Regions from separate parts of the Homo sapiens genome. Here regions 1 and 2 are each linked to region 3. Evidence: promoter capture Hi-C in human tissues and cell types (Jung and others, 2019). All regions are on one chromosome and are shown on one strand. The core of a region is centred on a gene start or on the middle of the fragment in contact, and the rest is flanking DNA. Distances in the headings are between cores, read along the strand shown. Region 1 overlaps CCP110 (centriolar coiled-coil protein 110). Region 2 overlaps VPS35L (VPS35 endosomal protein sorting factor like). Region 3 holds the start of THUMPD1 (THUMP domain 1 NAT10 acetyltransferase adaptor).

Region 1 (3,437 bases), core at 892-3,391, 1.2 Mb before region 3:
ATTTTCTTCACCATGGAAAGATCTCTAATGCCCCATCCCACTCAGTACCCAGACCATTGTTCTGATTTCTTTCACTATACATTAGTTTTGCCTGTTGCACATGTTTTTAATCTTTCTGATTCACAACTTCCCGATTTTATGATATTTTTATCGTGGGAAATAATTACATTTTTATGATGTTTTGCAGCTTAACATTGAGAAAAGAAAGGAAATGCAACAAGAAAAGCAGAAAGCACTTGATGTAGAAGCAAGAAAGCAGGTTAACAGGAAGAAAGCTTTACTGACTCGTGTCCAGGAGATTCTTGACAATGTTCAGGTGTGTGATTTTAGCTGTTTCAGTTATAATAAAGAAATCATAAGATAAGCGTTGATGATAATTTTTCTGAAATATATTTGCACTTAACTAATTACTAATGTACTTTACTGTTACGTTTGAGAAGCTTCATAATTTGTGATTTTCCATTTCAGTTACTCCAAAGAGAATGTACTTGCTTGTTAGTAATGCCCAGTACTTGAATCAGAGGATATTTACACAATAGAACCATACACTGAATATAATTGCTTATTGTTTGCATCTTATGACTCTAAAAACATTGAATTCTCAGTGACAAAATGACAGAATTGGGTATTATTGTTTACCCCAAACTAATTAGACTATTGACTAAATGACCTTATTCTCATTCTTTGCTTAAGTAAATAACTGCCTCCAATTTTTTTTTGGTGAAAACTCTTAGATACACAAAATGCAGTTTAGATAACATTGAATTGTTTAGATGCATCCTATGTCTAAAAACTATTTAAACAACACATCTACACCTTGTGCAGTTATTTTTAGATTTGTATAAACAATTTGTTCTGACATGTGGATCATTTTGTACTAAAAAGAAAAACAAATGAATTAGATTGAACGAATAATTTCTACAACATATAGCAGTGTTCTGCTGGTAACATCTTTTTGTTTTTTCATAATCTTAGGAGTTTGTGGTTTGTCTGTTTAATTCGTATCGATGACACGTGTATAATGAACCTTAAGGGTTCATTTCTCTGTTGGTAGTGTAAACTGAAGAAAATGACTGAGGCAAGTCTCAATCGATTTAGAGGTTTGTTTTGCCAAGGTTGAGGATGTGCCAAGGAAAAAGAGACAAAAGTTACAGTAGAATCTGTGGCTTATGCTTTTCCAGAAGAGGTTTTGAGGACTTCAGTGTATAAAGGGGAGAGAACAGCAGGAGGGGAAAGAGGAAAGAAAAAAAAAGGAGGGTAGGTAATGAGATAAGCGATCACATTTTTGTGAGGCTTTGATTAGCACTCACTGAATCCACAAGTCGCATGAGAAAGGTGGGGGTAGAGGAACAGTCAGTTATGCATTCATCTCAAGCTCAATAAATCTGCATTTTACATAGGATAAAGTAAGCAGAGTAGAGGAAGAAGTCAAATATACATTTGTCTCCAAAGGGATGATTTCTAGTCATCTTTGGTCTTTGTCCGTATCTTGTCAGAGTGAAATTCAGCAGAACTCTGGGTTGGTGTAAAGATTTTGGGGCCTACGAGGAATTTCCTTGTGAGCAATTTGCAAGAGAGTCTACCTGGGTAGATAGGTGGCCTTCTATTTTGCAGCTATCTGTTTAGGAATAAAAGGAAGGCAGTTTTTGTGTGACTCAGTTCCTAAGCTTTACTTTTTCCTTTGACATGTGATTTTCCATTTCAGTTACTCGAAATCCCTATGTAATGAGTCTTCAGAATCTGATGAAAAAGTCAAAGGAATATATAGAAAGAGAACAATCTAGACGCAGGCTGAGAGGTAGTATTAAGAGAATTGTTAATGAGAGTCATAGTGACTCTCATGTGACATAGTTGAGTTTGGGGTCCTGAGATATTATTTCCCTTTCACAGTAGTATATAGTGTGTGGGTAGTAGATTTCATTTTGCAGATTATAATTACTGTCCATATTAAGTTTAAAAAATGTATTGAGTAGCACTAATTTAACAATAAGAGGTAGGTTTTTTACTTACTACGTATTTCCTGTGATTGAAATGAAAATGGCATATCATTCTTGGTCCATTGAGGGAAGATAAAATATACTACTAATAAAATTGTTAAAAGAGCATGTATAATGTTGAACTGTAATGAATTAATTATTCAGATAGGAAAATTTTATATAATACAATTAGATTTCTGCTTCACCTGTAAAACCTAAGATTCTATGATAGATTTTTTTCTTGTTGTTATTTAACTTGTCTAACTAAAGGCTCATTTTAGTGACGTATAAACAACATAGCTTCCGAATATCACAAATGTGAAATATTTTACGTAAGGAAATCATCTGTTTTACTTAAACCTGTGAACATGTTCATGGATTTCATAAATATGCATCCTTTTTGTTTTATTTTGGTCCTGAGGCTGTGACTAAGTATGTCTTGTACTCTTGTACTGTTGATTGCATAGTACCTGGAAACCTTTTTGCATCTTTTTTGTTTTATTTTGGTTCTGAGGTTGTGACTAAGTATGTCTTATTGTACTGTGTATTGCATAGTACCTGGAAACCATTACCTGTCTTGGGATTTGTAACGTAAAATAGGAGAGCCATGTGGTCTAGAAAAAAACAAGCACATTCAAAACAACCAAAAAATATTGTAATATTCAGACTTTTTTTTTTTTTTTTTTTTTTTTCTGAGATGGAGTCGCGCTCTGTCGCCCAGGCCGGAGTGCAGTGACGTGATCTTGGCTCACTGCAAGCTCCGCCTCCCAGATTCATGCCATTCTCTTGCTTCAGCCTCCTGAGTAGCTGGGACTACAGGTGCCCACCACCAAGCCCAGCTAATTTTTTGTATTTTTAGTAGAGATGGAGTTTCACTGTGTTAGCCAGGATGATCTTGATCTCCTGACCTCATGATCCGCCCGCCTCGGCCTCCCAAAGTGCTGGGATTACAGGCGTGAGCCACCATGCCCCGCCAGTAGTCAGGCTTTTGATGTCTGTATTCATATGATAATACAATGATTTTTGCCAGTTTAATATACGGATGTATAATTACCTTTAGAAACTATCCTAGTTCTCTTTTTATTCTTTTGCAAAGTTGGATTATTTAGATACAAAATATCTATTTTTACATTCATTCATTCATTCATTCATTCATTTTTGAGACAAAGTTTAGTTAAACTTTGGAGTAAGCATGTAGGTGCAGGAGTCTTATTACTGAATCATTTTTGCTTAATCAATGTCCTGGACAAGTTAGTCTTTGTTAGAGAGGGAATCGTTTACGTAAGACATTTCATTACTTGCTGTTTATTGCATATATTATTATCCTTGGATGATAGCTATCCTAGGAGGAACAGTTGGTAATGTTAATAACATATGACTAGAAGAAATTTAAGTGCTTGTATTCTAAGATTAAATTGCACATGGATATATGAATATATGTGTGTGTGTATACACATATAT
Region 2 (3,321 bases), core at 135-2,634, 1.2 Mb before region 3:
CTCCCACCTGAGCCTCCTAAAGCTTCTTCCCCTTTTTTAAGTTGCACAAGTAATGCACACGGTACCTTCTGGTCAGGTCATCCTGACATGAGAGGCTGGTGTAGCTCTGTGAAGTCTTTTTGTTTTTTTGTTTGAAAGCATTTTAAAATTTATTTTTATTTTTTAATTTAATATTTTTTTCAGACAGCCTTGCTGTGTCACCCAAACTGGAGTGCAGTGGTGCAATCTCACTGCAGCCTCCGACTCCGGGTTCAAGCAATTCTCTCACCTCAGCCTGCCAAATTGCTGGGACAGGCATGCACCACCATGCCCAGCTAATTTTTGTGTTTTTTGGTAGAGATGGGCTTTCATCATGTTGACCAGGCTGGTCTTGAACTCTTGACCTCAAGTGATCCACCTGCCTCAACCTCCCAAAGCACTGGGATTACAGGCGTGAGCCACTGCACCTGGCTCTTAAAATTTATTTTTAATTTTAATTTTATTCTTCTTATAAATCTTTTTACATAATACATAAGTAAATCACTCATTTTGATGTGAAAAAGTCAGACACTACAGATAAAGTCATGTAGAGCAATCCTCATTCCAATCTCCACCCTGGCGGTTGTGAGAATGATGGCTGTAATGTGTCTTCTTCCATAGCTTTTCCCCTGTATTTTCATAGATACTTGCGATAGCAGTTTCTGAGCATTCCCATACGTACTCATATATAAATAATTACAGCATCAACTTACTGCATGGCAGGCATTTTTCCGGAGTGCGTTTTGTATTTGGTTCTCTTACTACCTTGTGAGAGGTATTGGAATCCTCATTAAAGAGGCAGCCATGGAGGGATAGAGATAACAAGTCACATCCAAGCTGGGATTCAAACCTGGCCAGTCTGACTTCAGAATACATGCTCTCGATCATCATCCTATGCTGTGTTTCATATATATATATATATATATATATATATATATATATATATATATATATATATATATTTTTGAGATGAAGTCTCACACTGTCACCCGGGCCGGTGTGAAGTGGGGTGATCTCGACTCGCAGCCTCCACCTCCCAGGTTCAAGCGATTCTCCTGCCTCAGCCTTCCGAGTGGCTGGGACTACAGGCACGTGCCACCATGCCCAGCTAATTTTTGTATTTTAGTAGAGACGGGGTTTCACTATATTGGCCAGGCTGGTCTCGAACGCCTGACCTCGTGATCCACCCACCTCGGCCTCCCAAAGTGCTGCAATTACAGGCGTAAGCCACTGTGCCCGGCCTGTGTTTCATATATTATTTACCATTGTTACATAAATGGAACTGCTGTTTTGTGACTTGTTTTTTTGGAGATAGTCTTGCTCTTTTGCCTAGGCTGGACTGCAGTGGCATGATCATAGCTCGCTGCAGCCTTAAAGTCCTGGGCTCGAACAATCCCCCTGCCTCAGCCTCTCGAGCAGCTGGGACTTCAGGTGTGTGCCACCGCACTCAGCTAATTTTGGATTTTTTGGTAGAGTTGGGGTCTCACTGTGTTGCCAAAGCTGGTCTCAAACTCCTGGGCACAAGCAATCCTCCTGCCTTGGCCTACCAGAGTTGCTGGGATTACAGGCCTGAGCCACTGCACCCCACAACTTTTTTTTTTAATTTATTTTATTTTATTTTATTTTATTTTTTTGAGACGGAGTCTCATTCTGTTGCCCAGGCTGGAGTGCAGTGGCGCGATCTTGGCTCACTGTGACCTCTGTCTCCTGGGTTCAAGTGATTCTCCTGCCTCAGCCTACCTAGTAGCTGGGATTACAGGCATGTGCCACCACACCTGGCTAATTTTTGTATTTTTTGTAGAGACAAGGTTTCGTCACATTGGCCAGGCTGGTCTCGAACTCCTAACCTCAGGTGATCTGCCCACATTGGCCTCCCAAAGTGCTGGGATTACAAGTTTGAGCCATGCCGCCCAGCCAACTTTTTTTTTTTTTTTAACTTGACCATATGTCTTGGAGAACTATCCATGTTAGTACATTTAGAACAACCTTATTATTTTGACCAGCCGTATGGTATTCTAAAGACTGGATTTACCTATTTTAATTTACCATTCCTCTACTGATGTATCCATCAGATGGAGGATATCCCAGATAGTTTCTGGGTTTTGCTGGTACAAACAGCAGTGCAGCATGTGTCTCGAACACACACACATCTTGGTGCATGTCTGCAAGGATTTCTGCAGGATAGCTTCCTAGAAGTTCTTTGCTGGTTGGCCAGGCGCAGTGGGTCACGCCTGTAATCCCAGCACTTTGGAAGGCTGAGGCGGGCGGATCATGAGGTCAGGAATTCGAGACCAGCCGGACCAACGTGGTGAAACACCATCTCTACTAAAAATACAAAAATTAGCCAGGTGTGGTGGCGGGCACCTGTAATCCCAGCTACTCGGGAGGCTGAGACAGGAGAATCACTTGAACCTGGGATGCGGAGATTGCAGTGAGTAGAGATCACGTCACTGCACTCCAGCCTGGGCAACAGAGCGAGACTCCATCTCTTTGCTGGCATAAGGCAATGTGTATTTAAGGTTTTGATGGCTATCACCAAATTGTCCTCCAAAAAGAGTTAACCAGTCTGCATTTCCACCAGTGATGTTGAAGAGGGTCTGTTTCCCTGCATCCTTGCCAGCCTGACATCAGCCAGCATTTTAACTCTTTGACATTCTGATAGTTGAAAAAGTGGTCTTTTCCAACTATCCTTTCCTTAATTCTTAATGAGTTTGAGCATTTTTTGATATGTTTATTGTCCATTTATGATGAAATGGTCTGAATTTTTTTTTTGAGATGGAGTCTTGCTCTGTCACTCAGACTGGAGTGCAGTGGTACAATCTTGGCTTACTGCAACCTCTGCCTTCCAGGTTCAAGCGATTGTCCTGCCTCAGCCTCCTGAGTAGCTGGGACTACAGGCATGCACCTGGCTAATTTTTGTATTTTTAGTAGAGATGGGGTTTTACCATGTTGGCTAGGCTGGTGTTAAACCCCCGCCCTTAAGTGATCCGTCCACCTTGGCCTCCCAAAGTGCTGGGATTACAGGCGTGAGGCACCATGCCTGGCGCTGTAATTTTTTTTATGATAGTAAACCTTGAGACAAATCTCTTTTATTCCACAGTAAAGGACTATCTGGCTTCTATTTATATATGTATATATTTAAAGATCAAAATGATATTGCTGCTGAAGAGATTATCTTGCCTTTCTTTAGGACAGCTCCAGAAGGAAACGTGATAGAGATGATAACTCCGTTGTAGGATCGGATTTTGAGCCTTGGACCAACAAACGGGGAGAAATCCTTGCCCGGTACACCACTACCGAAAA
Region 3 (3,622 bases), core at 762-3,261:
CAAGACTCTGTCTCAAAAAAATTAAAAAAAAAAAAAAAATGTGGAGGAAGAGGGAATTCCCGCAGACTATAGAATGTAAAATTTGAAAATGTTTTCAAAAGCATCCTGACAGTTTGAGGCAGAGAGAAACGTGCTGACCAGATCAATCATTTTAGGGTGGACCTTAACACGTTGACCAGGTATCTGTGTGCCTCACACGACACTGTCCTTTTGGTGAGATTAGACCAAATACCTGTGGAATTAAAAACCCTTACTCTTGTTCTATTAAGGAACAAGGCACAGAAATACATTGTTCAATAATTTTGGCCAAGCATGGTGGCTCATGCCTGTAATCCCAGTACTTTAGGGGGCAGAGGTGGGCGGATCCCTTGAGCCTAGGAATTTGACACCAGCCTGGACAACATGGCCTGAGAACCCGTCTCTACAAAAAATACAAAAAATTAGTCGGGCATGGTGGCACATGCCTGCAGTCCCTGCTACTCGGGGACTGAGGCAGGAGGACTGCTTCAGCCCCGGAGGTGGAAGTTGCAGTGAGCAAGAGCATGCCACTGTACTCCAACCTCCACCTTGGGTGACAGAGCAAGACCGCTTCCAAAAAAAGAATTTGCTTAAAGTACAGGAGTAGACAGGATATGTGCTTGTTGCCCAGCTCTCTGCCCCCTAGTGCCCAACGAAATTGCCAGTCAGGCACAATAATAATTGTATACATTTACAGAAACTTTATTACATACCAGTATGTATTTTATGTACATAAGCAACTCACTAGCCAGTCTTAAAGTATTCTCTTTTTTATCTAGCTCAGCAGCATCAAATAATGTGCCCATGTCCGAGTCCCCAAGCTAGTAGAGGATGAGCCGTGAATTTAAATTCCCTCTGTATTACCCTTCTTCATTTAATCCCTCAGTGTGCGTGTGTGTATTGGTCCAGATTCTAAGCCAGTAATATGATTTCCAAACACTAAGACTTTAGGTGATATTGGTAAAAGTTTTTACGTTCTAAAATGTATTTTAAGTGCAGTAACTAGCATTAGTAGTAAACCTATTATTTCAGAAATATTATTGCTTCAGGTAAACACATTATTACTCCAACTTCACGAGGCTGTCATGAAAAATGTGTTTCTGAAAGAGCTTCAGCACACCGCCTGGCCCTCAATGAGCAATCCTTAAGTGGGAGGTAGGCCGGGCTCAGTGGCTCGCGCCTGTAATCTCAGCACCTTGAGAGGCAGAGACGGGAGGATCGCTTGAGTGTAGGGTTTAGGACTACCCTGGGCCAAACAGTGAGACCCCTTATCTACAATTTACAAAACTTAGCCGAGAGTGGTGGCGCGCACTCATAGTCCCAGCTACTCTGGAGGCTGAGACAGGAGAAGTCGAGGCTTCCCTGAGCTATCATCACGCCACTGCACTCCAGCCTCGGCAACAGAGCGAGACCCTGTCTCACAAAAATAAAAATAAAAGTAATGGGAGCTACCGTGGTTACTGATGGCAAGAAAAGGTGCAAGCACTTCAAGCACAAAACCGATAGCACCGAAGTCTGCGAGCGTCTCAGGACTAGGGACGGAAACGCCGGCGAGGCCACGCCCCTACAGCCGTCACGCCGACGACCCGAGGCGCGCATGCCCATACCAGCAGCCATCCCTCCACCCTTCCCTCCTCCCGCAAGGCCTGGCAGCCGGCCCGCCCGCCCACCCCGGGACCGGTACCTTTTCTGGCCCATACATGTCGTCGCCGTATTCGTTGAGGAGGCTGTAGGCCTCCTCCACGCACTTGCGCTCGTTCATATTGCAGGTGATGAGGATGCCCTGTAGCCCGGGCTCTAGCTGACGGGGCCCGCCAGCGTCGCAGCGCCGAGCGCGCTTGGCCAGCACATACTGAGCCTTGCCTTTGCGCTTCCCGCCGCCAGGCTGAGTAGTCTGCTGGGCAGGGGCCGCCATGGTGTGCGCAAACTGAGAGGAAAGAGAAACGTTTCTCCGCTGCTGTTGGCGTCCTCGTCTATCGCCGGCGCGAACTGGTGACGTCGGATATGAGCGACGGCCTCCCCTAGCCGGCCTCGAAGCCTCATTCCGTGCTGCGCCAGGTCCTAAGGCCGGTCTGCAATCGTGAAAGGGGTGGAGTGATACCCGCCCAAGCCCCGCCTCCTGCCCCGCCTCCCGACTGCAACCTGAATCCAGTAGAGGCAGCATAGCAGCCATTCTGGAAGTGGTGTCGGTGGCTCCTCAAGCCCTTGAAGCTGGCTCCAGCCATATAGCTTCTTCCACCCAACCTTGGTACCTGTTCCTCCAGCCTTCCCTATAATTCTGCCAGCTACTGTGGAGGAAAAGTTAAATATTAAATTTGAACTCAATTGAACGTGGACACAATGGTCAAGTCCCGTAACAGGTTGCATGAGCCCCTTGAGGCATTCATTCATCCAGCACTGTTACAGATAACTCTGTACCTGTACTTGAGTTATTGAAAAACAGACAATCACAGAAACAAGTTGACCTTTATGTGTTCCTTGAGCCCAGTCGAGAAGGGCCCTCGTGACTGGGCCTCATGCCAATCAACGCATTACAAAAAGAGCCAGGGTCGGCCGGGCACGGTGGCTCACGCCTGTAATCCCAGCACTTTGGGAGGCCAAGGCAGGCAGATCACGAGGTCAGGAGATGGAGACCATCCTGACCAACATCTCTACTAAAATGCAAAAAATTAGCCAGGCGTGGTGGCGCGCACCTGTAGTCCCAACTACTCGGGAGGCTGAGGCAGGGGAATCACTCGAACTCGGGAAGCGGCGGTTGCAGTAAGCCGAGATCGTGCCATTGCACTCCAGCCTGGCAACAAAGCGAGGCTCTGTCTCAAAAAAAAAAAAAAAATGAGCCAGGGTCCCAGGCCACACGGAAGCTTCTTGAGACCCCTCCTCCTCTGTGCACGGACAAGTGGCTGACTCTGGAGCCCAGGCTGTTGCTTCCCGGTCTGGTGATGAATCCAACATAGTCTGGTGCGTGTAAATATATATATATATATATATATTTTTTTTTTTTCCCTTCTCCCCTTCCCATTGCAATTTGCTTACTATATCATTTGCTTATTATATCTGCATTGCCATTTACGTGGGATAAAGGTTGTTTACCCCCAAAGGTATTGTATGTTTGTCTATTTTTTTTTTTTTTTTTTGAGATGGAGTCTCGCTCTGTCGCCCAGGCTGGAGTGCAGTGGTGCGATCTGGGCTCACTGCAAGCTCCGCCTCCCAGGTTCACCCCATTCTCCTGCCTCCCTCCCGAGTAGCTGGGACTACAGGCGCCCGCCACCACGCCCGGCTAATATTTTTTATTTTTAGTAGAGACGGGGTTTTACCGTGTCAGTCAGGATGGTCTCAATCTCCTGACCTCGTGATCCACCCGCCTCGGCCTCCCAAAGTGCTGAGATTACAGGCGTGAGCCACCGCGCCTGGCCGTATTTTGTCTTGTTTTTTCCCCTCGCGCATTTCCCACATAGAACAGTTACTCAAAAGGCTTCCAGTAAATTCCATTTCAGCCTCAATTTTCCAGGCTATGTTTCTATTTCACTTAAAACCAAGGATGTTGGCTGGTGTTGTTTCATGCTGCTTTCGTTGCGGCCTTTTATCCATAGTCTTGGCAACTTAT

Evidence for each region. Contacts are between HindIII fragments. The study calls those that stand out against the background at their distance.
Region 1: a contact is called between a fragment that was not itself captured here and the fragment with the promoter of THUMPD1 in region 3, in 1 of the 25 tissues and cell types used here (dorsolateral prefrontal cortex).
Region 2: a contact is called between a fragment that was not itself captured here and the fragment with the promoter of THUMPD1 in region 3, in 1 of the 25 tissues and cell types used here (dorsolateral prefrontal cortex).

What each region holds. Positions count from the first base shown.
Region 1 is chr16:19,532,229-19,535,665 of GRCh38, forward strand. CCP110 (centriolar coiled-coil protein 110) reads left to right here. Exons shown (of 14, transcript NM_001323572.2): 3 at 188-316. Among named protein-coding and RNA genes, the nearest start is that of CCP110, 10 kb to the left of the region's middle. The HindIII fragment of the contact is 3,569 bases long and covers 358-3,437 here.
Region 2 is chr16:19,569,911-19,573,231 of GRCh38, forward strand. It overlaps VPS35L (VPS35 endosomal protein sorting factor like), which reads left to right. Exons shown (of 31, transcript NM_020314.7): 4 at 3,209-3,321. Among named protein-coding and RNA genes, the nearest start is that of VPS35L, 16 kb to the left of the region's middle. The HindIII fragment of the contact is 3,565 bases long and covers 1-3,167 here.
Region 3 is chr16:20,739,807-20,743,428 of GRCh38, forward strand. THUMPD1 (THUMP domain 1 NAT10 acetyltransferase adaptor) reads right to left here and starts at 2,012. Exons shown (of 4, transcript NM_017736.5): 1 at 1,703-2,012. The coding sequence starts at 1,933. It also overlaps a transcript of ACSM3 not described here. RefSeq lists enhancers at 1,198-1,287, 1,318-1,457, 1,758-1,807, 1,818-2,087. The HindIII fragment of the contact is 7,218 bases long and covers 1-3,549 here.